Regions from separate parts of the Homo sapiens genome. Here regions 2, 3, 4, 5, 6 and 7 are each linked to region 1. The links are contacts of gene promoters, found by promoter capture Hi-C in blood cells and fetal thymus (Javierre and others, 2016). All regions are on one chromosome and are shown on one strand. The core of a region is centred on a gene start or on the middle of the fragment in contact, and the rest is flanking DNA. Distances in the headings are between cores, read along the strand shown.

Evidence for each region. Contacts are between HindIII fragments. The CHiCAGO score rates a contact against its expected background, and 5 or more counts as called.
Region 2: a fragment that was not itself captured here is called in contact with the fragment with the promoter of LYRM9 in region 1 in 1 of 17 cell types (erythroblasts); the score reaches 5.0 in erythroblasts.
Region 3: a fragment that was not itself captured here is called in contact with the fragment with the promoter of LYRM9 in region 1 in 2 of 17 cell types (erythroblasts and naive B cells); the score reaches 7.6 in erythroblasts.
Region 4: a contact is called between a fragment that was not itself captured here and the fragment with the promoter of LYRM9 in region 1, in 4 of 17 cell types (erythroblasts, endothelial precursors, M0 macrophages and 1 more). The highest score is 7.8, in erythroblasts.
Region 5: the fragment with the promoter of KSR1 here is called in contact with the fragment with the promoter of LYRM9 in region 1 in 3 of 17 cell types (monocytes, M1 macrophages and M0 macrophages); the score reaches 7.7 in monocytes.
Region 6: a contact is called between a fragment that was not itself captured here and the fragment with the promoter of LYRM9 in region 1, in 5 of 17 cell types (erythroblasts, M1 macrophages, M0 macrophages and 2 more). The highest score is 12.1, in erythroblasts.
Region 7: a contact is called between a fragment that was not itself captured here and the fragment with the promoter of LYRM9 in region 1, in 6 of 17 cell types (M2 macrophages, erythroblasts, M1 macrophages and 3 more). The highest score is 9.3, in M2 macrophages.

Annotation. Positions count from the first base shown.
Region 1 is chr17:27,891,530-27,895,006 of GRCh38, reverse strand. LYRM9 (LYR motif containing 9) reads left to right here and starts at 1,642. Exons shown (of 4, transcript NM_001076680.3): 1 at 1,642-1,690. RefSeq lists a silencer at 1,461-2,010. The HindIII fragment of the contact is 2,313 bases long and covers 410-2,722 here.
Region 2 is chr17:28,378,022-28,381,498 of GRCh38, reverse strand. SARM1 (sterile alpha and TIR motif containing 1) reads right to left here. Exons shown (of 9, transcript NM_015077.4): 2 at 1-296. Among named protein-coding and RNA genes, the nearest start is that of SARM1, 8.1 kb to the right of the region's middle. RefSeq lists a silencer at 1,243-1,443. The HindIII fragment of the contact is 1,410 bases long and covers 1,114-2,523 here.
Region 3 is chr17:28,353,816-28,357,292 of GRCh38, reverse strand. POLDIP2 (DNA polymerase delta interacting protein 2) reads left to right here. Exons shown (of 11, transcript NM_015584.5): 1 at 1-5; 2 at 1,417-1,498; 3 at 2,708-2,805. Among named protein-coding and RNA genes, the nearest start is that of POLDIP2, 2.0 kb to the left of the region's middle. RefSeq lists a silencer at 1-68 and an enhancer at 1-366. The HindIII fragment of the contact is 1,713 bases long and covers 791-2,503 here.
Region 4 is chr17:28,327,472-28,330,948 of GRCh38, reverse strand. TMEM97 (transmembrane protein 97) reads right to left here. Exons shown (of 3, transcript NM_014573.3): 3 at 2,264-3,477. IFT20 (intraflagellar transport 20) reads left to right here. Exons shown (of 5, transcript NM_001267776.2): 3 at 421-506; 4 at 1,673-1,776; 5 at 2,216-2,623. The coding sequence ends at 2,297. Among named protein-coding and RNA genes, the nearest start is that of IFT20, 6.3 kb to the left of the region's middle. The HindIII fragment of the contact is 691 bases long and covers 1,547-2,237 here.
Region 5 is chr17:27,454,604-27,458,080 of GRCh38, reverse strand. KSR1 (kinase suppressor of ras 1) reads right to left here and starts at 1,633. Exons shown (of 21, transcript NM_001394583.1): 1 at 1,207-1,633. The coding sequence starts at 1,437. RefSeq lists silencers at 774-823, 1,344-2,103 and an enhancer at 1,467-1,968. The HindIII fragment of the contact is 16,082 bases long and covers 1-3,477 here.
Region 6 is chr17:28,307,873-28,311,349 of GRCh38, reverse strand. No RefSeq gene overlaps it. Among named protein-coding and RNA genes, the nearest start is that of TMEM97, 9.6 kb to the left of the region's middle. The HindIII fragment of the contact is 3,560 bases long and covers 202-3,477 here.
Region 7 is chr17:28,284,712-28,288,188 of GRCh38, reverse strand. It overlaps the pseudogene KRT18P55. Among named protein-coding and RNA genes, the nearest start is that of TMEM97, 33 kb to the left of the region's middle. The HindIII fragment of the contact is 9,556 bases long and covers 1-3,477 here.

The sequences.
Region 1 (3,477 bases), core at 393-2,892:
ATTCAATTATTTTCAAATCTAGGTTTCCATTGTGACTTGGAAAAAAAATTAGAGATTATTGTTCAAATCTCTCCTACTTTGGATTTTTTTTTCTTAGTATTTGGATGTTTATAAGAAATTGTTGTGAAAGTTAAAATCTTGTGCGTTTGTAAAATTGGAAGAGGCACAAGTGATTCTGAAGGTGGAGCCTTTCAGAGGTAAAGCAAACAGCTTGCATCTTCAATATTTTATGAGATCTAGGTATTAGAACCATGTTTCTGATGCAGGAATACAGCTATCTAGGAACAAAAGGGAGATGAGACTACAGAACAGACTGTGAAATTTCTTAAAATTATTAAATGATCCTAAGACTGAGCACAGGAGTGGATGATGTTACTGCAGATTGTTCTTAATAAGGGCTTTAAAAGCTTAATGATTTATTGATTGGCTCTGCATTAATGACGTGCCCTTGATTATGCATGTGTAAATAAGAGGGCTGATTTATGAGGGTACAATTGTATCTTTCAGATATATTTGTCCAAGTCTACATCTTTAAAATAAATGGAAGCAATTATCTGAATATTTCAAGGGAGGGAACCCCACCTTCCCATCCCCCACCCCCGATTTGAGGGAAGTCTAGTATGTTAGGTGAAGAGAAAAAAAAAGAAAAGAGGAAGCTCTAAAGGGAGTTAGGAACAAAACAAAACTTCCGTTAAGAAATATCCCTGCTTCTCTTATCCTAAGAGAAGAAAAACAGATTCCCAGGTGCCACCGGGGAGCAATGTTTTACTTAAAAAAAAAAAAAGAAAAAGGAAAAAGAAAAACCTGTAAGAAGTTGTCCTGTTAAATCAACGACACATGGAGTCTGAAGGAAATCAGCCTTTTCGTTACAAACAGGTTTAAAAAGCCCTGGAGAAGAGAGACGTGAACAGAAGCAATATTATCCACTAACAACCTAACTCCCGCTTAGACATCAGCTGAGAGATCAGCAGCATCATTGAACAGGGGGGTTTGTCTTAAGATAATGACTCATCTTGATTTCTTTCAGGATATAAAACTTGTATTTAAATCAATTCAGAGAAGCACTTGAGCTTTAAACATTAGAGAGCAGGGAGAGCCTATTTAATAAACAGCATTATTTCATTTTCAAAGAATGATACTGGCAGTAGCTCTAAGTTTAAATTTTGTATTATTTTCCTCAATTATAATTATAGATGGGTCTGAAAGGAAGCATGCTTATTACTGTCATATTTATTCTTTTGACAGGTGTTATGGGACTGTAATTTGGTGAAATGATTCAAAACGCAGATTCCTATCCAAACACAATTCTTGTCATCAACACGAGAGGTTCAGGAAAAGTCCTCCAGCAAGCCTTTCAGAGATCTTGAACACCCCATATTCATAGCACAATCCATATTCAGGAATAAGGAGGAGAGAGTGCCTTTAGGGCTTATATCCGGCGTAGCAACAGCCAGAAGGCAGAGTGGGTGTTTGAGGTAACAGGTAACGAAGGCTGTTAGTGGGGACAGCTTTCAACTGGGTGGGGTCGGATCTAGGAAGAGGCACCCAGTAGGACCCCGAGTCCCGCGCGCGGCCGGCAGAGGGCGCTGGGCTCACCGTCGCCGGGCAGGGGCGGTGCCGCTCAGTCCCCGGGGCGCAGGCGCACTCGTCGCCGCGGCGGCGTCCGGGGCTGGCGTTCCCCTGGAGGCTGGTGAGCCGCGCTGCGCAGGCCGAGGCCGAGGGCGGGGGCGCGGGGGCAGCGGCGGCCGGAGCCACTGGGTGGCGGGGGCGGGCTAGGGATGTGGAGGCCTCGGGTGTCCTCGGATCTATTGAAGACCTAGGGGCGACCCGCGCCGGCACCTTTTCCCTTGCGGTCTGCGCTCTTCCACCGGAGAGCTGAGTGCACCGGAGCGCGGCGCCCGGGCTTGACGCAGGCCTGGCCGGGCGGCCTCGGAGGAGCAGGAAAGGCCTGCAGCGCGAGCTAGGGGCGCGAGGTCCGGGGCAGCCCGGAGGCCAGCCTCTCAGAGGCTCACGGGCCTGGCCACTTTTAAAAGGAGAATGTCCCCTCCACCGTCCCTCTGCCCGCGGCACCCGGTGGCCGGAGCAACCTTGTCGTGATGATTTATGCTTCTGCGTAAGAGCAAGTTGCTCCGTGGCCAAAACCCTTTCGCTCCTAGGATTGATCCTTTTTGTGGTTATTGTTTTAAAAAGTTTTATTGAGATATAATTCACGAAGCATACAGTTCACCCATCTAAAGTGCACAATTCAGTGTCTTTTAGTGTGTTTGCAGAGTTGTGCAGCTGTCACCATAATGTTTTAGAACATTACCCCCCAAAAGAAACACCTCCTTTAGCTGTCACTCCCCCCTCCCATCTACTCCCATTCTCCCAGCCCTAGGCAACCACCAATGTACTTCTGTCTCTGTACTTTTGCCTATTCTGGATGTTTCGTATAAATGGAATCATACATTAAGTAGCCCCTTGTGACTGGGTTTGTTCACTTAGCGTAATGTTTTCTGGGTTCACCTGCCATAGGTTCTTGACTTCAGGACAGTTTCCTGCTGGCTTTAGTTTCCTCTGGTAACTTGGGAATCAATTGACATCTATGGAACTTCTGTTATGGTTCAGGTACTATAAACTGTGGAGGAGTGACTAATAACCGTATATATATTTTTCTTACTAATTTCCCTTCATTTCACAGGTGTTGAACTAATACAGTATAGTTTCTTGTTCTTCAGAAGCTTACAGTCAGCAAGGAACAGAAAGCCAAATAAAGTAGGAAAGGGTAAGATGTTCAACGCTGGGCGCAGTGGCTCATGCCCATAATCTCAGCACCGTAGGAGGCTGAGGAAAGAGGATCACTTGAGCCTAGAATTTTGAGACCAGCCTGGGCAACATAGTAAGACTTCGTTTCTATAAATAATTAAAAAAATTAGCCAGACGTGGTGGCGTGTGCCTGTGATCCCGGCCACTTGAGAGGCTGAGGTAGAATCGTTTGAGCCCGGGCAGTTGTGACTGCAGTGATCCCTGATCATGCTACTGTACTCCAGCCTGGGTGACAGAGTGAGACCCTGTCTCAGGACAAAAAAAAAAAAAAAAAGATGTTCAAGCACTTAAGATGTGCCAGCCCCTGTGCTAGGCACTTTCCATAAGTTAGCTAGGTTGGTCTTTACAAAACCCCTGTGAGGTGGGTTATTCTTTTCTCCAGTTTACAGTGGGGGAAGCAGAAGTCCAGAGAAGTCAACCAGGTTGGCCAGGATTACACAGCTAGTAGATAGCAGAGGTAGGCTTTTAAACTAGGGTTCTTTGTCTCCAAAACCTGCTCTAAGTTCTGTCACATCGATTATAATCACAATAAGTGATTACAGAGCAGTGTGATGACTGTAATAGGGGTGTGAACAGCATGGGATGAAAGCCTGAAGGAGGTGACAGGGAACTGGATCTCTAAGGATGAAGGGGAATTCTTGAGGCAGGTGAAGAAGTCAAGGTAGGGGAAAG
Region 2 (3,477 bases), core at 569-3,068, 490 kb before region 1:
GGAAGAGCCACTCGGCTGCGCGCTTCTCTACCATGCGTCGCTGCACCGCCTGGCCCCCGTGCAGCGCGCAGTTGCCCAGCGCCAGCGCGCAGTGGCGCAGCAGCGCGGGGTCCGTGCGGCGGCACCAATACAGCACCGCGTCCAGGCCGCCGGCCGCCACCAGCCTCTGGCATGTCTCCTCCGAATGCTTGAACATGTGCTCCAAGATGCCTGCCACGCTCCGCGCCAGCTCTACGGGTTCGCGTTCCTTCGCCAGGTTCAGGATCACGCCCAGCCCAATGCGCGCCACGCGGTCTCTGCCCAGTGAAAGTGGAAGGGGACAGTGGAATTGCCGCAGCTTGGGGAGCTTGGCTTGCCCGTTTGGGGCCTGGTCACTAACCCTCTCTGGGCCTCACCGGCCTCATATAGGGGAGAGCATTCCCCTCCCTGCTCCCCACCCTCATCTCCTCCCCTGGGAGGACCCCACTTCTCGGATTCTAAGGGTGCTCTATTCTGGCCATAGCCGTTCTCCCCCTCCCTCCTCCCCTTGAGAGGCAGTATGTGTGGTGGCTAAGAGCCTCAGCTCAGGAGCAGATCCCCTGGGTCCTGGTTTCTTCTCAGCCCGTTTTCTAACTGGGATAAAGGAGACCTTTGGGCAGCTTCCTTTATCTCTCTACCTTGCTTTCCTTATCTCATAAATAGAAAATAGAAATACCTGCCTCATAGGATTATTATCAGGACTAATGAGATAAGCCTTATAGAGTGCTTGGCACAATGCCTGGCACATGGTAAAAACTCAACAAATATTAACTTGTCCTAATTTGAAGTGTCACTTGAAGCACACCACTCTTAGCCTTGCCTTTTCCTCACTCCATGGCCCATGACCGGGGCATATCTATTCATTCATTCAACAGATGCTTCCTGAGGACGTCCCCTGTGCCAGCCACTGCACTAGGGGCTGAGGTTTAACAGAGACTGGCCAGAGCTTATCCTCAGGGCGATGGAGGAAGACATAGACAAGAAAACAATGAGTGAACCAGATCGTAGTGATAGGGCCTTGGCGCTAGCAAAACAGGATGATGTAATGGCGTGTGCCTGGAGGAGGGGTATGTGGGAAGAGGTGACATCTAAGCTTAATGTGAAGAAATCCCTGTGTGCAAATATCTGGGAGGAGCATAACAGGCAGAGAGAGGAGCAAGGATGAAGGCCTGAGGGCAGAGGAGCTGACGTGTTTGAGGAATAGAAAGAATGCCAGAGGTATTGCGATGTCTAAAACCAAAAAGGGAAAATATAAAACCAGGCTGGGCAAGGTGGCTCATGCCTGTAGAATGCTTGGCACAATGCCTGGCACATGGAGGCCAAGGTGGGAGGCTCACTTGAGACCATCCTGGACAACAAAGTGAGACCCTGTGTCAAAAGAAAAAAAAAAAAAAGAGAGAGAGAGACAGAAAAAAAAAAAAAAGAAAAGAAAAAAATCAATGAGGGGTTTATATGTAGAATATATCAGCAAATATTCAAATCAAGAAGAAAAAGGCAACAAATTCAAAAGAAAATGGGCAAAGGACATAAACAGGCAATTGACAAGAGGAAATCCAAAATTTGAAAAACCAGATAAAGAGATGCTCTAACTCATTAGTAATCAGAGAAATGAAAATTAAAACAATAGCTATCGCTACCTGAAATGTTCTTCAACAAAATCCGCTTCATGGTTCGTCATTCCAATGTCTGCTCAAATGTTACTTCCTTCCAATCATCCAATCTAAAGGCTTTTCCCCATCACTTTCTAACTCATTACCTTATTTTATTGTCTTCAGGGCATTTAATATCTGATATTATATTAATAGTCTACTTGTTTGTTAGTTCCATAGACCAGAAACCTTATCTGTCATTTTCTTTCTTAAAATGATCTAGGCCGGGTGCGGTGGCTCACGCCTGTAATCCCAGCACTTTGGGAGGCCGAGGCGGGTGGATGACAAGGTCAGGAGCTCGAGACCATCCTGGCTAACATGGTGAAACCCTGTCCCTACTAAAAATACAAAAAATTAGCCGGGCGTGGTGGCGGGTGCCTGTAGTCCTAGCTGCTCAGGAGGCTGAGGCAGGAAACTGGTGTGAACCCAGGAGGCGGAGCTTGCAGTGAGCCAAGATGGCACCACTGCACTCCAGCCTGGGCAACAGAGCGAGACTCCGTCTCAAAAAAAAAAAAAAAAAAAAAAAAAAAAAGATCTAAATGGAGAAAATTACCCTTTCCTAGAGTTTCTTCACCTAAATCATTTTATTTTATTTCAAAGGCCATTCCCACTCTCCTTTGTCCCTGACCACTCTCCACACACATACCTTGAATAAAATGTTCACTGGCAGAAAACAAGCAAACAGAAAACCAGCTACCACTTTACACCTGTTAGATGGGCAAAATCAGAAGCTGAACAATACAGGCAACCTCTCCCAAAGAGATTGTCATATAGATAGAGAAAAGCACTTAGACAAGGATGTTCACTGCAGTGTCATTTGTAGTGTGAGGAAGTTGGAGGCAATCAGTATCAAGCTTGGGGAGAGTCAGGTAACATGGGCAGGTGCCTACTCTGTAGGATTTGCAGGGAGGTCCAAGTGACTGAGCAGGTGATAACACAGCAACACGAACCTGGACAACATAGCCTGGGCAACATAGCAAAACCCTGTCTCTACAAAATCAAAAAAATTAGCCATGTATGGTGGCACAGGCCTGTAGTCCCAGCTACCTGAGAGGCTGAGGCAGGATGATAGTTTGAGCCCAGTAGGTTGAGGCTACAGCGAGTCATGATTGGGCCACTGCACTCCAGCCTGGGCATCAGAGCAAGACCCTGTCTCAAAACAAACAAACAAACAAAAAACCCAAAAAACAAAAAACAAAAACAAAAACAAAAAAACCAATAAAACCCAACACTGAGTGGGAAAAAGTAAGAAATAGAATGTGCTATATGACACAGCACTATTAATATACATTAAAAATACATGCACACAAGACCAAGAATAAAGATTTAAAGATTTTAGCAGAACACAGATAGAAAGATACACATTAGATATACTGAATGGTTCCTTATGGAGTTAGGGCAAGAGAATAGTGTGGGCATTAGTCAGGAGGAGAAGGAGAGATTGCATTTCAGTTGCATTTCAGGCACAGGTATATGCAAAGAGTTGGAGGTGTTGGAGAGCTGGTGCACTTGGGGAGCTGCCCACACTTCCATGGCTGAGGCAGAAGATTCAAGGGGAGAGTGTGAAAAGAGATCGGACCTGGGGACCTTTTGAGGCACCTCAAGGCATTTGTAGTTTATCTTGATGTCAAAGAGAAGCCACTGAAAACTCTCAGGGAGGGGAGTGGCCTGGCCATATTTGGGTTTTAGAAAATTCACTCTGGCTGTGGTGGAGAGGACAGATCCAACAGAGAGAACTTGGAGGCCTGCTGAGCAGGTGGGAGAGTTGCCACATCCTGGTAGAGGTTCAGGCTTCCTGCCTTACTGACCT
Region 3 (3,477 bases), core at 398-2,897, 460 kb before region 1:
TCCCGGTGAGGGACGGAGCCAGGGGGCGCGAGGAACTGGGCCTGGAGCCCAGAGAGCGTGTTCCTAGCCAGTGCGGAGGCCAGGGGCCCGGGCCTGCTGAGGGTGACTGGAGTTTGACCCGGGAGAGGGTCCCGAGCAGGGAGCCGACCTGCGCTGTCTGGGACATGTGCCAGGAGCAGGGAAGCCAGCGCGGCCCAGAGCCCTGGTTGTACAGGGCTGGCCCTGGGGGGGAACAGGTTACCCTCCCCAAGTGAATCCTACTTCCCCGGCTGGGGTCCCCAGCACCGATGTCAGAGGGAAGCTTTTTAATTCAGCCCTAGGGCATTGGCTTGAACCCTCAGCCTTTGGATTTGGTGAAGGTCTGCCTCAGAAAGATGCTAGAGGTGGGAAACGAGACTCTTGGGTGTGGACCCTCGTAGGCCCCAGGTTTCCAAGTGACTTTGGGGAGATCGATTTTCTATCTGTGACTTGGGGAAGGGGGTTTGAGGCCATGGGGATGGTGTGGAAACTGTTTCCACGGATGGGACAGGCGGATCAAATGGGCTGGTGGATCAGTGGGAGGAAGCATAAAGTTCACATCTTCAAAACAGTAAAAACAGCCTTTATTTGAAGGGCCCCTAGAAAGAGCAGCCCTGTTCAGAGTGGTGACTGACATTTTAGTGGCTGATATTAGACACTGAACATTGGGGAGAGATGATAGCTATTTGCAATTTAAGACCCCTGTGAGAATATGAACAAAAACGGTATTGAGAGAGCGATGTGCCGTAGGAAATCTAGAGATGTTTAAGCTTTTCAAGGGCAATGTAAGGGCTACAGGTTAGAGGGGGAGATGGACATGGAATTATAATACAGGACAAATATTTTTTGAGCACCTCTTGTACACTAGGCTCTGAGGGGGCAGTACCAGCTAATCAGACTCAGGCATTGCTCCCAGGGAATTTACAGTATTTAATAAAGATAAGACATGGACACAACTGAAATGTAAAGGGAGCAGGATATTGTTTGATGACTTGTGATATAGAAAATGTAAGAAAAGAAGAAAAAAAGATACTCCCCTTCTAAAAAAATTGAAAAAGTGAGCAAGACAGTTAAAGTGCTGTGGGAGGTCAGGAGGGTGGGTTAGGGAAGAAACAAGGGCAGGGGTACATTTGAGCAGAGTGTGAGGGCATGATATGAAGAATGCCCAGTGAAGAGAGAAGACAGTAGTATGGGAGCGGTCACATCTAACACTGGGAGACTGTGGAGGTTTTCACCAAGGAGGAGGAAAGCCTTTCCTGCTCCAGCTGGTCCCACTACCCCAAACCCTTCTCTGCTGTCATCGCCCTGGCCCCTCAGTATCCTAGGAGCTTTTTCTTATGGATAACTACCATTACCTTCTCAGCTTTTCTGTTGCTTGTTCTTTTCCTTCCTACTCAGAAACCGACCAGAGGGCAAAGTGTTGGAGACAGTTGGTGTGTTTGAGGTGCCAAAACAGAATGGAAAATATGAGACCGGGCAGGTGAGTATTGGGCTGGGTCATCTTTCATTTTCATAGAGTGCTCTGCTTCTGAAAAAAGTCAGATTAGGTCACAGGCCTGCATGGTATGGTGTTCCATTCATTCCACCTTGATGTTTGGTGCCATTCCAGAATCAAATTTGTATTCATTTTTTATTTTATTTATTTATTTTATTTATTTATTTTTTGTGAGACGGAGTTTCAGTCTTGTTGCCCAGGCTGGAGTGCAATGGCATGGTCTCGGCTCACTGCAAGCTCCACCTCCTGGGTTTAAGCAGTTCTCCTACCTCAGCCTCCCTAGTAGCTGGGATTACAAGCATGCGCCACCACACTTGGCTAATTTTGTACTTTTAGTGGAGATGCGGTTTCTCCATGTTGGTCAGGCTGGTCTCGAGCTCCCGACCTCAGGTGATCCACCTGCCTTGGCCTCCCAAAGTCCTGGGATTACTGGCGTGAGCCACCGCACCCAGCCCAGAATCAAATTTTTATAGATAGGGTTTCTGTTCTCCTGGATTTGAATGCACTTAATGTGTCAGTGGGTTCTCTTTCCAAGTTAATGTGGACAGGGATGGTGTGGACTATAGTGAGGTTTAGCCAAGTTGCTGAAGATTTCTCTAACATAGTGGATGGTGGGAAGCCGTGGAGGGAGCTTTCAGAAAAGTATACCTTTGATGCTTTGCCGTAATAAAATTGACTTCAGTGTGGTAAACTCTGGATGTGTGGTTCTTTTTCTATATCAGCTTTGTTCTGGGTCCACTGGGATAGATTTAGGCCCTTCTAGGATATTGTAGGTAAGGAAGACTTTTTGTTTGTTCAACATTTTATTTTTCTGTGTGCCTACAATGGACTAGGCATTGTGCATTAGGGTTAAATCAGAAAGCAAAGTAGACATGATTCCTGCTATTGTGGAGTTTCTAGTCTAGAAAAGAACGATTTGCAAATGGCCAATAGCTGTACATTGTGCTAAGTGGAAGGGAGGTCAGGGAAGGCTTCCTGGAGGCCTAAGCTTTTACCTAAAGGATGAGTAGAGTCAGCCAGGTAAAGAAGAAATAAGAGTGTTCCAGCATTGGTCTGGTTGATCACAGACTTCAAGGGAAGAGGTAGCAAGACCTTGTGCTGGAGTTGCCTCCACCTGTGTTGCTTTGTGGTCTGGGGCCCACCTGGATGGATTTGCTGGACTGCAGACTCACTGAGGCCCCTCTTTCCTTCCAGCTTTTCCTTCATAGCATTTTTGGCTACCGAGGTGTCGTCCTGTTTCCCTGGCAGGCCAGACTGTATGACCGGGATGTGGCTTCTGCAGCTCCAGAAAAGTAAGTTTCCCTGTGGTTGTGCCTCACAGTATCCTCAGGAGGAGATGGCAGACATATGTAATTGGGGTACTAGGGGTGAAGACAGCGTCCTCCTAGGCCTTGGAAACATCCCCAGAGTACTTCTCTGGGACTAAGACCCATGGAGACAAAAGTGCTGAGTGCCAGGGATAGTCTAAGTCAGAGAGTCCCTTTAGGCCTCCTCAGAATGCTTTCCTAAGCCATTCCTAATTTTCATTATGAGTATCCCAGAGGGCATTTGGGGGACAAGTCTTCTTGATTTCTTGATGTTCAGCTGGAGTCTTTCCCTCAATCTCACATCATCCCTAGAATACATTAAAACAGAAAAGGTTCAGCCCCATTAAGTGATCACAGACAGTCCCTGGGATATAAGAAGACAAGAGTACTCTGGGCCCTGGGGACTGAGGTGGCAATTTGATTTTCTCAACATGGCCCCCTTCTTTTAAGAGGTATCCACACGGTCAGATGATGGCTCCATACCATGGTCTTCCATGCTCTATTATTTGCCCCAACTGAGGAGCAGCTGAGCTGAGGTGCTGCAGAGCAGGTGTCCAGCTGGTGCTAAAGCCCCTTTAGATCAGAGACCAGCCTGTTTAGGTGAGGAGGAGTAGGGAGCTGAGTCAGCCACAGCTTCCATTTCTCCTGGGGTGATCT
Region 4 (3,477 bases), core at 643-3,142, 440 kb before region 1:
TAGTGCTTTCATAGCCGGAGGTCATAGCGGCTGGCTGGCTCAGTGGGGATGCAAGGTCCGAGTATGCCCTGGTCCAGCTGGCCACCCTTCTCTAGGTTCAGACCAAGGGTAGGAGACAGGCCAACAGGCACCAAAGTGTTTAAGCGACAGGGTCTTGCTATGTTCCCCAGGCTGGAATGCAGTGGCAGTTCACAGGCATGATCACACATCCTCTAACTCCTGGGTTCAAGTGATCCTCCCACCTCAGCCCCCTGAGTAGCTGGGACTACAGTTGCTCTCCACCACGCCTGGCCCACACCGAACTATTTTAACACAAATTAGAAGGGGCAGTCCGCTCTGCCCTCTCACTGCCTTAGCACTCTACCGAAGGGGAGTGATGATACTAAGGAAATATTTTATTTTTTGTTCTTTTCCTAAAAGAAATTGGCCAGTTTCAGAAAATAGTTGGTGGTTTAATTGAGCTTGTTGATCAACTTGCAAAAGAAGCAGAAAATGAAAAGATGAAGGTAAGATCAGCATGTCTTCCGCCTACATCTTGGCCTGGGACCCTAGTTCACTACCCTCTCATCCCTCTTCCCTCTTGATTTATTTAGAGGGGTAGAGGGCTGGGTGGGTGAATTTTTATTTAAGATTTTAATAACTTCTGGTCCACTTAACCTACTGAACTTTTGCCAATCTTTATTTCCTTTAATCTTTATTTTTTTTTTTTTTTTGAGACAGAGTCTTGCTGTGTCACCCAGGCTGGAGTGCACTGGTGCAATCTCGGCTCACTGCAAGCTCTGCCTCTCAGATTCAAGCGATTCTCCCACCTCACCCTCCCGAGTAGGTGGGACTACAGGTGTGTGCCACCACACCCAGCTGAGGTTTTTGTATTTTTTTTTTTTTTTTTGAGACGGAGTTTTCTCTCGTTGCCCAGGCTGGAGTGCAATGGTGCGATCTTGGCTCACTGCAACCTCCGCCTCCTGGGTTCAAGCGATTCTCCTGCCTCAGCCTCCCGAGTAGCTGGGATTACAGGCATGTGCCACCATGCCTGGCTAATTTTGTATTTTTAGTAGAGACAGGGTTTCTCCATGTTGGTCAGGCTGGTCTCAAACTCCCAACCTTAGGTGATCCGCCCGCCTCAGCCTCCCAAAGTGCTGGGATTAAGGCGTGAGTGACTGCGCCCGGCCATTTTTTTGTATTTTTAGTAAAGATGGGGTTTCACCATGTTGGCCAGGCTGGTTGCAAACTCCTGGCCTCAAGTGAACTGCCTACCTTGGCCTCCCAAAGTGCTGGGATTGCAGGTGTGAGCCACCACACCTGGCCTCGTTTCATCTTCATATCAGCACTGATGTAGATGGTCTTATCCTCATTTTATAAATGAAGAAATGAAGGCTTACATAGTATGATTGGTGAAAGGCACAAGGCTGAATGGCACCACCAAATGTGCTATTGTGCCTGTGTCCCTGGCTCTAGGAATACTCCTAGACCTGCCTCAAAGCTGCCGTCTAGTTCTTGAGGCACTTTGTGATCAGTAGGTTAATCCTTCTGACTTAACCCAAAAGCTTTGGGGCTCCACTTTCTTTTCCTCTCTGAAGACTGACACAGCTCCCAGATAACCCCTCCCCACTTTGAGGACTTGATGCTGTAGATGGTTTTAATGAAGCCATGGCCTTCTCTGGCAATACTGTAGGCCATCGGTGCTCGGAACTTGCTCAAATCTATAGCAAAGCAGAGAGAAGCTCAACAGCAGCAACTTCAAGCCCTAATAGCAGAAAAGAAAATGCAGCTAGAAAGGTAAGAAGTCATGATGTAAAGCAAGTTCTTTACACAGCTGAATTTCCACTCTTCCTTCTGGAATGATCACTTCTTGTCCTTATTCTTCATCATTGTTTTCCCAGGAATAGCATCTCACTTGTCATCCTGATTTGAAGATTTTAAAAAATAAAATTACATTTGATGGGAAGGAAATAGAAAACTTGTTAATATCAAACCACCTCTAGTAGTTTGAGCATGAAAGGGTCCACGAAGTTGGCTGGCTCTCTGAAAGAAGACTTTCCTAGGGCTGGAGATTTCTCATGGGTGGCTCTGGGTAGGGCTTTGCCTCTTTCTTTCTTCATTCTGAACTCACACCATTTCTTGAAATCATTTAAACCTCTATATCCTTCTCTAGAAGAATTAGGTCTGTGGTTTACTTCATCTTTTTTTCAGGGCCTCTAACAATTTTGTTTTTCAGGTATCGGGTTGAATATGAAGCTTTGTGTAAAGTAGAAGCAGAACAAAATGAATTTATTGACCAATTTATTTTTCAGAAATGAACTGAAAATTTCGCTTTTATAGTAGGAAGGCAAAACAAAAAAAAGCCTCTCAAAACCAAAAAAACCTCTGTAGCATTCCAGCGGCTTGACCAATGACCTATGTCACAAGAGGTGGCGTGTAAGGAATGCAGCCCCCTGAAGACAGCACTACAAGTCTGGGGGAGCCAGTTTTAACATCAGTGCACAGCTGCTGCTGGTGGCCCTGCAGTGTACGTTCTCACCTCTTATGCTTAGTTGGAACTAAGCAGTTTGTAAACTTTCATCCTTTTTTTTGTAAATTCACAAAGCTTTGGAAGGAGAAGCAATAAATTTTTGTTTTCAAATGGCTTGATGTACCTTTTTTCCTGTTGCTCTTGAAATATGTTTAACTCCTCATGAGAGAACCCTGGATTCTCTATCCCCTAGTCCACAAAACAAACCAGGCAGTGGTCAGCAGCTACCTTTATTTGGATCACACACGTGAGTCAGACAGTACCACTAATCGGGCCAATATGGCTTGTGAGCAAAATGGGTGAAAATAGAGGGAACTGACTGGGACCTGTTGTCTAACATCATTTTAAGGTTGAACTTGAGCAAAGACTTAGAGAAAGCTGATGGAATGCCAAGCATCAACGTGAAGAGACCCTCTATGCACACAGTGGATATGTTATGCCTGGCTGTAGCCACCTTCTCTTCTGAAAACAAGATGGGAATGACGGAACTGTATTAAAAGATTAAGTTATCCACTAGGGAGCATACTAGCACACTTCCAGATCAGCCTTGAGATGCTAGACTTCAGATACAGGGACTTGTGTCAGGTGGCCTCTAGAAATGTGGAAGACTAAGATTTAGAAATAAACTAATTTAAAAGCAAACAAACAAAAAAAACTTTCGCCTAGGATGATCTGTTTACAACAGAAACAAAAACATTTTCCAGTTTAATCCATTTGACTGAAAGTCATTGTTGGGCTGACCCTTAAGGAAAACTTAAGTTTAAACTTCCTTTGCATAGTATGTTTTCTCTTTTTTCCTTGGGTTAGAGGTGGGAACAAGAAAACATTGATATAGTTTTGAATTAACATTAAAGAGGCAAAATTTCACATTTAAAATGGCCCAAAATATCCCACTATTCATTTTGCTGACAGGTGATACACTCTTGAGAATCAGGAGTGGAGGGTTTAGTCATAAGCATATATGCTGT
Region 5 (3,477 bases), core at 384-2,883, 440 kb after region 1:
TAGCTTTTAAGAAAATAAAACTGAGGGAGAGTCACCCCCGAGCATTTGGAATCAAACAAGGATTCGGCTTTGTGGCATGCCTGGAGGAAGGATTGGTCTTGTAATAATTACCGCGATCACAGAGGGCCTTATGACAGCTGGCAGAGGCAATTAGCAATAAGGGGCGGGGGGAGGGTTTGGGGGAGGAGAAATTGAGGATCTAATAAAACAAAACATCCCCAGACCTGCAGGAGGCCAGATGTGGCAGGGCAAGATGGTGAGAGGTTCCTTCTTCAAGACGGGGCAGCTATTAACTGGTCTGACGTTTCACCGCCCCGTCCCTGGCCAAAATCACATTCAGAATCCACTAGTTGCCCTCATTTGTGTATGGACAGGGTGCCCCAACAACCCTCGGGCTGGTTTTTCCAAATCCTTCAGATACTTCCCCAGCTATAATTTGAGAGAGGAAGGCCCGCATATCTTATTTCTTCTTTACACTCCAGACTGTCTCCATCAGAACCCTTTAAACAGTTTCATCTTCCCACCAAAGGCTTGCTTCCCAGCATAATCCTTCCTAAGCCTAAATCCAATCTTTGGGGGGAAGCAGGGGGAGTCAGCGGGTAATTATTAATACATTTTAAGCAGCGAGCCTCCGTGGCAACGTGAAAGGAAAGCACCAAACGCCTGAATAACAAAAATGCAGTTTCAGCAACACTTTTTGAAAAGGCGGCAGACAAGACCTGAGAGGAGAGGAAAGGAAGGGACAGGACGGCGTCTGGGGCGTGAGGGGAACAGGGGACGGCAGGCCTGCGATCACGCTTCAGGGGAACCTCCTCCGTCACCCTGGCCCACGGGTGCTCGGCTCAGTCACACGGGGAAAAGTCCAGCTTGTGACTCGGTGGGACAACGAGTCCTGCGGCCCCGCAAACTGGAAATGGGGTGGGGGCGGAGAAGGGGGGAAAGGGGATGTCCGCGCGCAGCCCACCCCGCACGGGCCCCTCGAGCCTCCATCCCAGTTCCCACGACGCACCCGCCCCACAAATCCTGCCCAAGATGAGGGCTGGTCCCGGGTCCTCCGGCTGCCGCATCAGCGAGTGCAGGAGGGAGGGGAAGCCTCCAAGGGGGGCGACGCGGGCTCAAGGATGCAACTCGGCCAGGAGTACTGGGGCCCGGAGGGAGGTGTCCGGGCCCGCTCCTCGAGCCCAGCCTGGTCCCCGACCCACTTACCTCCAGGGTCCGTATCTCCTGCTGGGTGAGGTCGTTGGACACAGCGCACTTGGTGCGCAGCCCGCGCAGGCTGCCGATGGAGATGTCGATGAGCTTCTGGAGCTGCCCGCACTGCTGCAGCGCCCGGCTGGCCGCGGCCCCTGCGCCTCCCTCCGCGGCCGCCGCATCCCCCCCGCCACCGCCCTCCTTCTTCTCTCCCATCGCCGCCGCGCGCAGCGCTGCTCTATCCATGCCTCGGCATCGGGGCCGCGGCGGCCGAGGCTGGGAGCCCGGGGCGCGGGCGCCTCGGCAAGGAACCCCCGAGCCAGGAGAGCTGGACCAGGAGCGCCCCTCGGCGCTGCCCGAGCCGGGACGCCGGTAGAGCCGGCCGCTGAGTCTGCCGCTTCCACCCTCCCAGCCGCGGCAGCAAAGCGAAAGCCGCGGCGACCCGACGGCTGCGGCTCCCGGAGCCTTTAAGCGGCGGCGGGGGCTGGGTCAGGGCGGCCGGGCATGCTGGGACTTGTAGTCCACGCCGCGCACCTGCCGCCGGCCTCCGCCCTCGGGGCCCCGGACCGCGCCCGCGCCGCCCTCCCTGCCCTCCTCTCCCCTCCCCTCCCGGCGGCCGCGGCGAGGCAGGCGGTGAGGGCCGGCCCCAACCGGGAGCCCCGGGTGGAGCTGCTCCGCGCCAGCTCCTCCCCCAGGCGCCGAGAGTCGGGGGAGCAGCGTCTCCCCGTCCGCCTCCGTCCCCCACCCGGCCTAGGAGCTTCCCGCGACCCCCGGATGGGGCGGCGCCCCCTGGACGCCCGGCGGGTGTGCGTCCCGCAGTTCCTCAGCTGCAGCCCAGCCCTGGAAGATGGGGACCAGGGAGGTTCCAGGATTTGTATGTGGGTTTAGGGGCTGCCATCTAGTGGGAAGGGGCTTACAGCACTTCTGTAGCTGGCTCACAAAGCGCTCTACTCTGGACTGCCTGCGCCAAAACGATTGCTCAGGCTTGGAGAAAGACGAAGAGCTTTCTTCTGAACCACATTTACCTGCCAAAATAAGTGTCCCATTCCCCCGCCATTCCCAGCCCACCAAGCCAGCCCAGACACGGGGGACAGCACACTGAATTGTCGGTGGCTTCGGAGCAAGTGGCCAGGATTCAAATTCTGACTCCACCACGGTCTAGGGTGAGACTTTGGGCACGTTCGATTTCCAGTGAATGCCCGACTCTCCTCATCAAATAACTCTTTAATAGGGTTCCTATGAAGAATCAGTTAATACATGTACAGCACCTAGATTGATTACTGGCACATGTGGTCGCTGGATAAATGTTAGCAATTCTTACTATCTAACCTCAGATCTGAATGTGGCCCTGGACCCAGGTAGTGGCCATGGAGCAGTACAGTACTGCCAAGGACTGGTAGTCCTTTGTCCTCTGTGCATTTCTGTGCCTCCTAACCCAGCAATCAAGCCTTGCCCATCTGTTCACCCTCCTCTCCCATTAGTTCACCCCATGCGTTCTATTATCTGGCAAAACTGAAAAACCAAGTCTCTGATCAAAGCTCCCACACCTTCATGCTTTCGACATCTGTCAACCAGAAAAAATGTCTCCCCTCTCAATTTTCTCTTGTAAGCTGCTTGATTGCAGAAGCCACTAGCTATTGTACCCTCTTTATAGTGCCAGATACAGTGCATGGCACACAAGAAAGGCTCCAGCGTGCCTCAGGAGCTCTTTCAGCAGGTCCTATGGGATGTTTCTTTTACCTCTCAGGCCAGCCGAGGGTGTGTGTGTGTGTGTAGATAGACAGTTGTTTTTTTGGTTTTGTTTTTGTGTTTGAGGATGAGAATTGGACAGGAGGTGGGATCCAAACCTTGTAGACACTAAAACAATCAATAATGGATGGCAGTTTGTATTACACCTTCCTTTAATGTTTATATTACACCAGCCTTCGAAATAAATTAAGGGCTGGGCACCGTGGCTCATGCCTGTAATGCCAGCACTTTTGAGAGGCCAAGGGGGAAGGATCACTTAAAGCCAGGAGTTCGAGACCAGCCTGGGCAATGTGACAAGACCCTGTCTCTAAAAAAAATAATAAATTTTTAAAAATCAGGTCTAGGAAGCAAAACTATAACTTTAAAACTTGTTTTTGCAAATTAACCCCTCCTCGAGATTTTCCAAATGCAAGGAGGTTCCTCCCTAACCCCTGGCCTTTCCCATTGAGAGTCATTGATCCAGTCCTCACTCAACTTATAAAAAGACCGCCTGCACGATATTATGAATTTCTCAACCTGTTACCTTAACCCCATCCG
Region 6 (3,477 bases), core at 732-3,231, 420 kb before region 1:
GGCTGGAGTGCAGTGGTGCAATCTAGGCTCACTGCAAGCTCCGTCTCCCGGGTTCAGGCCATTCTCCTGCCTCAGCCTCCCGAGTAGCTGGGACTACAGGCACCTGCAACCACGCCCGGCTAATTTTTTGTATTTTTAGTAGAGACGGGGTTTTACTGTGTTAGCCAGGAATCAACACATTTTTTTTTAAAGGAATAAGCTTTGTAAATATTTTCTCCTAGTCCAGCTTATGAATTTTTTATTTCATATATTGTGCTTTTGGGCTGTCTCTAAGAAAATATTTGTCTAGCCTGTGGTCGCAAAGATTTTCTTCTGTATTTTTCTTTTAGAATATTTCATTTTCAGTTTTACATTTAGGTCTGTAGCGCATTTTAAGTTAATTTTTTATTATGATTCAAAGTATGGATTGAGGCTCTTTTTTTGTTTTGCATATGGACACCGAGTTCTAGTGTCGTTTATTGAAAACACTATCATTTCTCTGTTGAATTCTCTTTGTACTTTTGTTGAAGATTAATCATAGATGTGTGGGTCTTTTTTTGGACTAAAACTCTAAAACTATATTATTAATCCTGATTTGTATTGCATCTGACAGATCCAGAATGATTTGAAAAGTTAATTAGCTAACAAATTTAGAAGTTTGTTAAGTGTCTTATTTGGAACCTGGCATTTGCTGACAGTAGTTTGTAATCTACAGAAGGGTTTTCTAAAATAACTTTAAGCCTAAGATTAAAAGAAGATTTTGCTAATGACTCATTATCTGTTTGGAAAAACTTGTGTGATTTTTCATGCAGTAGGGATGAGCTGAAATGGTTTTTCCTAGAAGATGCCCATTTTCTTTTTTGTAGAATTACTTGGTAGTTCTCTAATAATCTGTTTGTGCTTTATATCATCTTTGATAGTGATACATTTGGGGGCAGTTCTCTTTTTGTTTAAAAACCATCACGTAGTTGTCCTAAGTTAAATATTCTAGGCCAGACTTGATGGCTTATATCTGTAATCCCAGAATTTTGAGAGGCAGAGGCAGGAGGATCACTTGAGCCCAGGAGTTTGAGACCATCTGGGCAACAGAGTGAGACCGCTCTACAAAAATCAAAAACAGGTCGGGTGCGGTGGCTCAGGCCTGTAATCCCAGCACTCTGTGAGGCTGAGGTGGGCGGATCACCTGAGATCAAGAGTTTGAGACAAGCCTGGCCAAAAAAAAAAAAAAAAAAAAAGAGAAAAGAAAAAAAAGTAGTTGGCTGTGGTGGCGCATGCCTGTGATCCCAGTTACTCAGGAGGCTGAGGCAGGAGAGTTGCTTGAACCCAGTTGGTGGAGGATGCAGTGAGCCGAGATCGCGCCACTGCACTCCAGCCTGGGTGATGGAGCAAGACTCCATCTCAAAAAAAAAAAAAAAAAAAAATCAAGAACATATCCAGGCATGGTGGTACATTCCTGTTGTCCTAGCTGAGGTGGAAGGATTGCTTGAGCCCAGGAGTTCAAGGTTACAGTAAGCTATGATGGCCCCACTGCACTCCAGCCTGGGTAGCAGAGAGAGACTCTGTCTCTAAACAAACTAAAGGTTTAATTACTTTTTAAAAAGTAGTACACAATTATTGTTTTTAGGATGGATTTTTTTTTTTGACAGACTCTTGGTTTGCCACCTAGGCCTGAGTGCAGTGGCTTCATCAGCTCACTGCAGTCTTGAACCCCTGGGCTGAAGTGAGGCAGGAGCCTCAGCCTCCCGAGTAGCTAGGACTATAGGACTAGGAATACAGGCACATGCCACCACACCCAGCTAATTTTTTTGTAGAGACAAGGTCTCGCTATGTTGCCCAAGCTGAAGTCCAACTTCCTGGCCTCCAGCAATGAATGCTCCCACTTCGGCCTCCCAAAGTGCTAGAATTACAGGCGTGAGCCACTGTGCCTCGTCTATTCTTTTATCATTAAATTGTATAGACCTGTAGAGTGAAAGAATTGATATTCGGCTGTACATTGGTGTTCTATAATATAATAAGGTTTGAGCTAATCTCAGTATTTGAATATTTATTATTTAGTAATTTAGAAGTACTTTGCAATTAACACCTTTAAATTAACTTAAAATTTTAAATGTAGTAGAAATTAAAATGCCAAGAAGCAGGTGTTATTTAAAAAAAATCATTGGACAAAATATTGAGGTTAATTTAAGACAGACTTTCAGGATTAATAGCTATTTTAAATTTTTTAAAAATCATTTGTTGATGAGTGCTTTTTCTTATTCCTGAAATAACTACTCATAAGTCCTTTTTTATTTTTTTATTTTTAATTTTTATTTTTTTTTGGTCTTTGGAAAACATACTCCTGTCCCTTGCTATTCCATTTTTCTCCTTTTTTCCCCCTTTCTTCATTTGGATAGACTTTGCCATACAATTTTATTTTTATTATTTTTATGTGGTAAAATACACGTAATAAAATTTATCACTTTAACTGTTTTAAAGTATATAATTCAAGCCACGTGTAGTGGAGCCCGTAGTTCCGGCTAGTCAGGAGGCTGAGCCTGGGATCCTTGAGCCCAGGAGTTTGAAGACAGCCTGGGCAACATAGCGAGACCCCCTTCTCTTAAAGCAAAAGTATATAGTTTAGTGGCATTAAGTACATTAACAATATTGTATGACCATCACCACCACCATCTTGTTCTAGAACTTGTTCATCATTGCCACTTAATGTTAGCACCTAATTGTTCCCTAGTGTTTGGCTGCCATATTAAGTATTAGGTTTGTAAAGGATAAACAAGACTTAGTTCTTGTCCTCGAGGACTTCAGAGTCTAGTGAGAGAAACTTAACATTTATGATACAATGTGGCAAATTACATGCTAGAGTTCCCCATCACTGAATTTTATTTATTCAATTAGAATTTTTTTATATATTTACCAATGCATATATTTAATGAATCAGGCATACAATGCTCACCCATTCAGCAATTTCAGTGCTTTTCCTGTTTGCCTTGAAAATTTCATCCAGGAATTCACAAAGGAATACTCGATGAAGCCACATCATCAAATGGATTTTTCCCCAGGGAAGTCCAGTTTTTTTCCTTTTTTTTTTTATTATACTTTAAGTTCTGGGGTACATGTGCAATTCCTCAATTAGAATTTTAATTTTACCTTGAGAAAGCAAAGTAACTTTTTGTTAATATTCCGGTTATCGTATCATTCCACACACTGAATTCATTTAGGCTAGACCAAAAGACTGAAGTCTTTAGTCTTTTGACTTAGGTCATTGTGGGACTCACAAATCCTCATGCCCTATACTGTATTGCAAGAAGGGAACCAGAAAATTGACATTTTGATTTAGAACCAAATTATGAGCTATTCCTTCCTAATGAAGCAGGGAGATCTGTGAAAACTATGATTAGAGAGAACTTCTTAGTTGTCTGCAACTATCATTTGTTGAAACTGTTTTTACTTATTTTAGTTGCAGTGACAACTTGCTTATGATCAAATACAGTATTATATGGGTAT
Region 7 (3,477 bases), core at 704-3,203, 390 kb before region 1:
TTTTTTCCACTAGAAATGAGGTCTTGCTATATTGCCCAGGCTCCTGGCCTCACACAATATTCCCACCTCAGCCTTGCAAAGTGCTAGGATTACAGGCAGAAAACTAGATTTGAATTCAATACAATAGAATAGAAACATGTAATGTTACAATTTAGGCCTTATGGTTAAATTAGAATGCTAATTAATATTGCACTAACTTCTGACCTGGTGTGGTGGCTCACACTTGTAATCCCAGCACTTTGGGAGGCTGAGGCAGGAGGGTAACTTGAGGCCTGGAATTCAAGACCAGCCTGGACAACATAACAAGACCCTGTCTCAACAGAAATAGAAAAATTAGCCAAGCCCAATGGCACATGCCTGTAGTCTTAGCTACTTGGGAGGCTGAGGGGAGAGAATTGTTTGAGCCCTGGTACTGGAGGTTGTAGTGAGCTGTGATGGGCCACTGCACTTCCTGCATTCCAGCCTGGGCAACAGAGCTAGACCTGTCTCTATAAATAAATTATGCAAGACCTGTCTCAATCAATCAGTATCAATATTTTACTAATTTCTTAAGAAACATCATTCTTTGAGAAAATATTTTTATTAATATTATAGTGACATAGATACATTTTTCTGAATAGACTTTGCAGAAGCTAAGTTGTCTTTGTATCTTCCTTTTCCTTTTCTTTCTTTATTTTTTTATGAGATGGAGTTTCACTCTTGTTGCCCAGGCTGGAGTGCTGTGGCATCATCTCGGCTCACTGCAACCTCTGCCTCCCAGATTCAAGTGATTCTCCTGGCTCAGTCTCCCAAGTAGCTGGGATTACAAGCACACACCAGCACACTCAGCTAATTTATTATATTTTTGGTAGAGATAGGGTTTCACCATGTTGCCAGGCTGGTCTTGAACTCCTGACCTCAAGTGATTGGCCCGCCTTGGCCTCCCAAAGTGCTGGGATTACAGGCGTGAGCCACCGGGCCTGGCCTTACTTTTCCTTTTCAATTCATATTTTCCTTTGTAAAAAGGAAATAATGCTTAATATTTATTATGTGCCAAATATTGATCTAGAGTCTAGATGTTTTGCATTGTCTCATTTAATGAAATAGATATTAGTATGCTCATTTTATAAATTGAAAGTTTTGGAAAGTTTATACAGCTACTGAGTCTCTGCCATTCAAACATAAGCCTGACTTTGAAATCAATATTCATACCTTTTCCCTTCTCAGGAAAAGCTGATACTGAAAATAGGAATAGGTAGGTGGTAGGATAGCAAACATGCAGCTCCCCCAAATCACAAAGCAAGGTATGGATTGTCAGAAAGGCTGAGTTATACAGAGAGCTGGCGTAGCTGAAGGAGCATATAGCTGTAATCTCTGTTTTTTTGCTAATTAAATGGGCCTTGGAGTCTTTATTCAGTTGCCAAAGGCAAGCATAATTTTAGTTATTTACAAACCAGATTTAATAAGGTATGGGCTCTATAGAGTCTTTGACCTTTTTAATGGAATAAATATAAACAATAGAAAAGAGGCCCAGATAATAAACAAGATTAGTCAGAATTGGCTGTCAACAGTAAGAGGTTAGGTTTTAGGGATAAAATAGAAAAGGAAAGGGCCGGACGTGGTGGCTCATACCTGCAGTCCCAGCACTGTGGGGGACCAAAGCAGGAGGATTGCTTGAGGACAGGAGTTCAAGAGTAGCCTAGGCAATATAGCGAGAGCCTGTCTCTACAAAAATTAAAATAAATATGAGGATGAAAGGGATTGCAGGAGAGGAGAGGGAATGAGAATGGGGAACTTGCATGCTGTATATAAAGGGACTACTTGTTTCCTAGTACAGAGATCATCACATTTAAAGGATAAATTAAAAGACCTTAAATGTGAGTTAAGTCAAGAAAAAATAATAATCAGAAAAGAAGTTGCAGTTCCAGTGGCATGTGCCTGTAGTCCTAGCTACTCAAAAGGTTAAAGCAGAAGGATCAGTTGAGCCTGGGAGTTTGAGCCTGGGCAACATAGTGAGACCCCATCTAAAAATTAGCCAGGCAAGGTAGTGCACACCTATGGTCCTAGCTACTTGGGGGGCTGAGGTAAAAAGATTGCTTGTGTCTAGGATTTGAAGGTTACCGTGAGCTATGATTATGCCACTGCACTGCAGCCTGGGCAACAGAGCAAGACCTTGTCTCTAAATAATAAAAATAAAATGCTATAAGGGTTCAAAAGAAGAGTGACTAGGGATGACTTCGGAAAGAAGTCCTGAGGAGAGAGGAATAGGTATTACCAAAGACAGGAGATACTGATGTATACACAGTAATTGCAGTTGACAAAGAGTAGGCATAGCTAATTGGAGCAGATTGTGTCTATGGCATAGTGGATTTCATGCATTCTTTAACAGAAGAAACCACCTCAAAATTTTTTTTTAATGTTGAACTTCAGTATATGAAAGAGAAGGGAAGCCCACACAGTGTTTTTTTTGTTTTTGTTTTTGTTTTTGAGACGGAGCTTCGCTCTTGTCACCCAGGCTGGAGTGCAATGGCGTGACCTTGGCTTACTGCAACCTCTGCCTCCTGGGTTCAAGCGATTCTTCTGCCTCAGCCTCCCCAGTAGCTGGGATTATAGGCATGAGCCACCACGCCTAGCTAATTTTTGTATTTTTTAGTAGAGACAGGGTTTCATCATGTTGGCCAGGCTAGTCTCGAACTCCTGACCTCAGGTGATCCACCCGCCTCAGCCTCCCAAAGTGCTGGGATTACAGGCGTGAGCCACCACACCCGGCCCACTCAGTTGTTTTGATTGAAGCAGAGTTCTAGGTCTCCAGGAACAGTTTAAAAGCTATAGGCTGGGTGCGGTGGCTCACGCCTGTAATCCCAACACTTTGGGAGGCCGAGGCAGGTGGATCATGAGGTCAGGAGTTTGAGACCAGCCTGGCAACATGGCGAAACCCCATCTCTACTAAAAATATAAAAATTAGCTGGGCATGGTGGCGCATGCCTGTAATCCCAGCTACTTGGGAGACTGAGGCAGGAGAATGGCTTGAACTCTGGAGGCAGAAGTTGCAGTGAGCCAAGATTGTGCCATTGCACTCCAGCCTGGGCGACAGAGCAAGACTATCTTAAAACAAAAACAAAAACAAAAACTGTAACTAGGCTGGGCGCGGTGGCTCACGCCTATAATCCCCAACACACTGGGAGGCTGAGGTGGGAAGATCTCTTGATCTCAGGAGTTTGAGACCAGCCTGGGCTACAATAGTGAGACCCTGTCTTTACAAAAAAAAAAAAAAAAATTAGCCTGGTGTGGTGGTGTGCACCCTTGTTCCTAGCTACTTGGGCAGCTTAGGTGGGAGGATCACTTGAGGCCAGGAAGTTGAGGCTGCAGGGAGCCCTGTCCATGTCAGTGTGCTCCAGCCTGGGTGACAGAGTGAGACCATGTCTCAACACACACACACACACACACACACACACACACACACACCCTTATAACTGGAAGGCAGAAATGGGAAATATT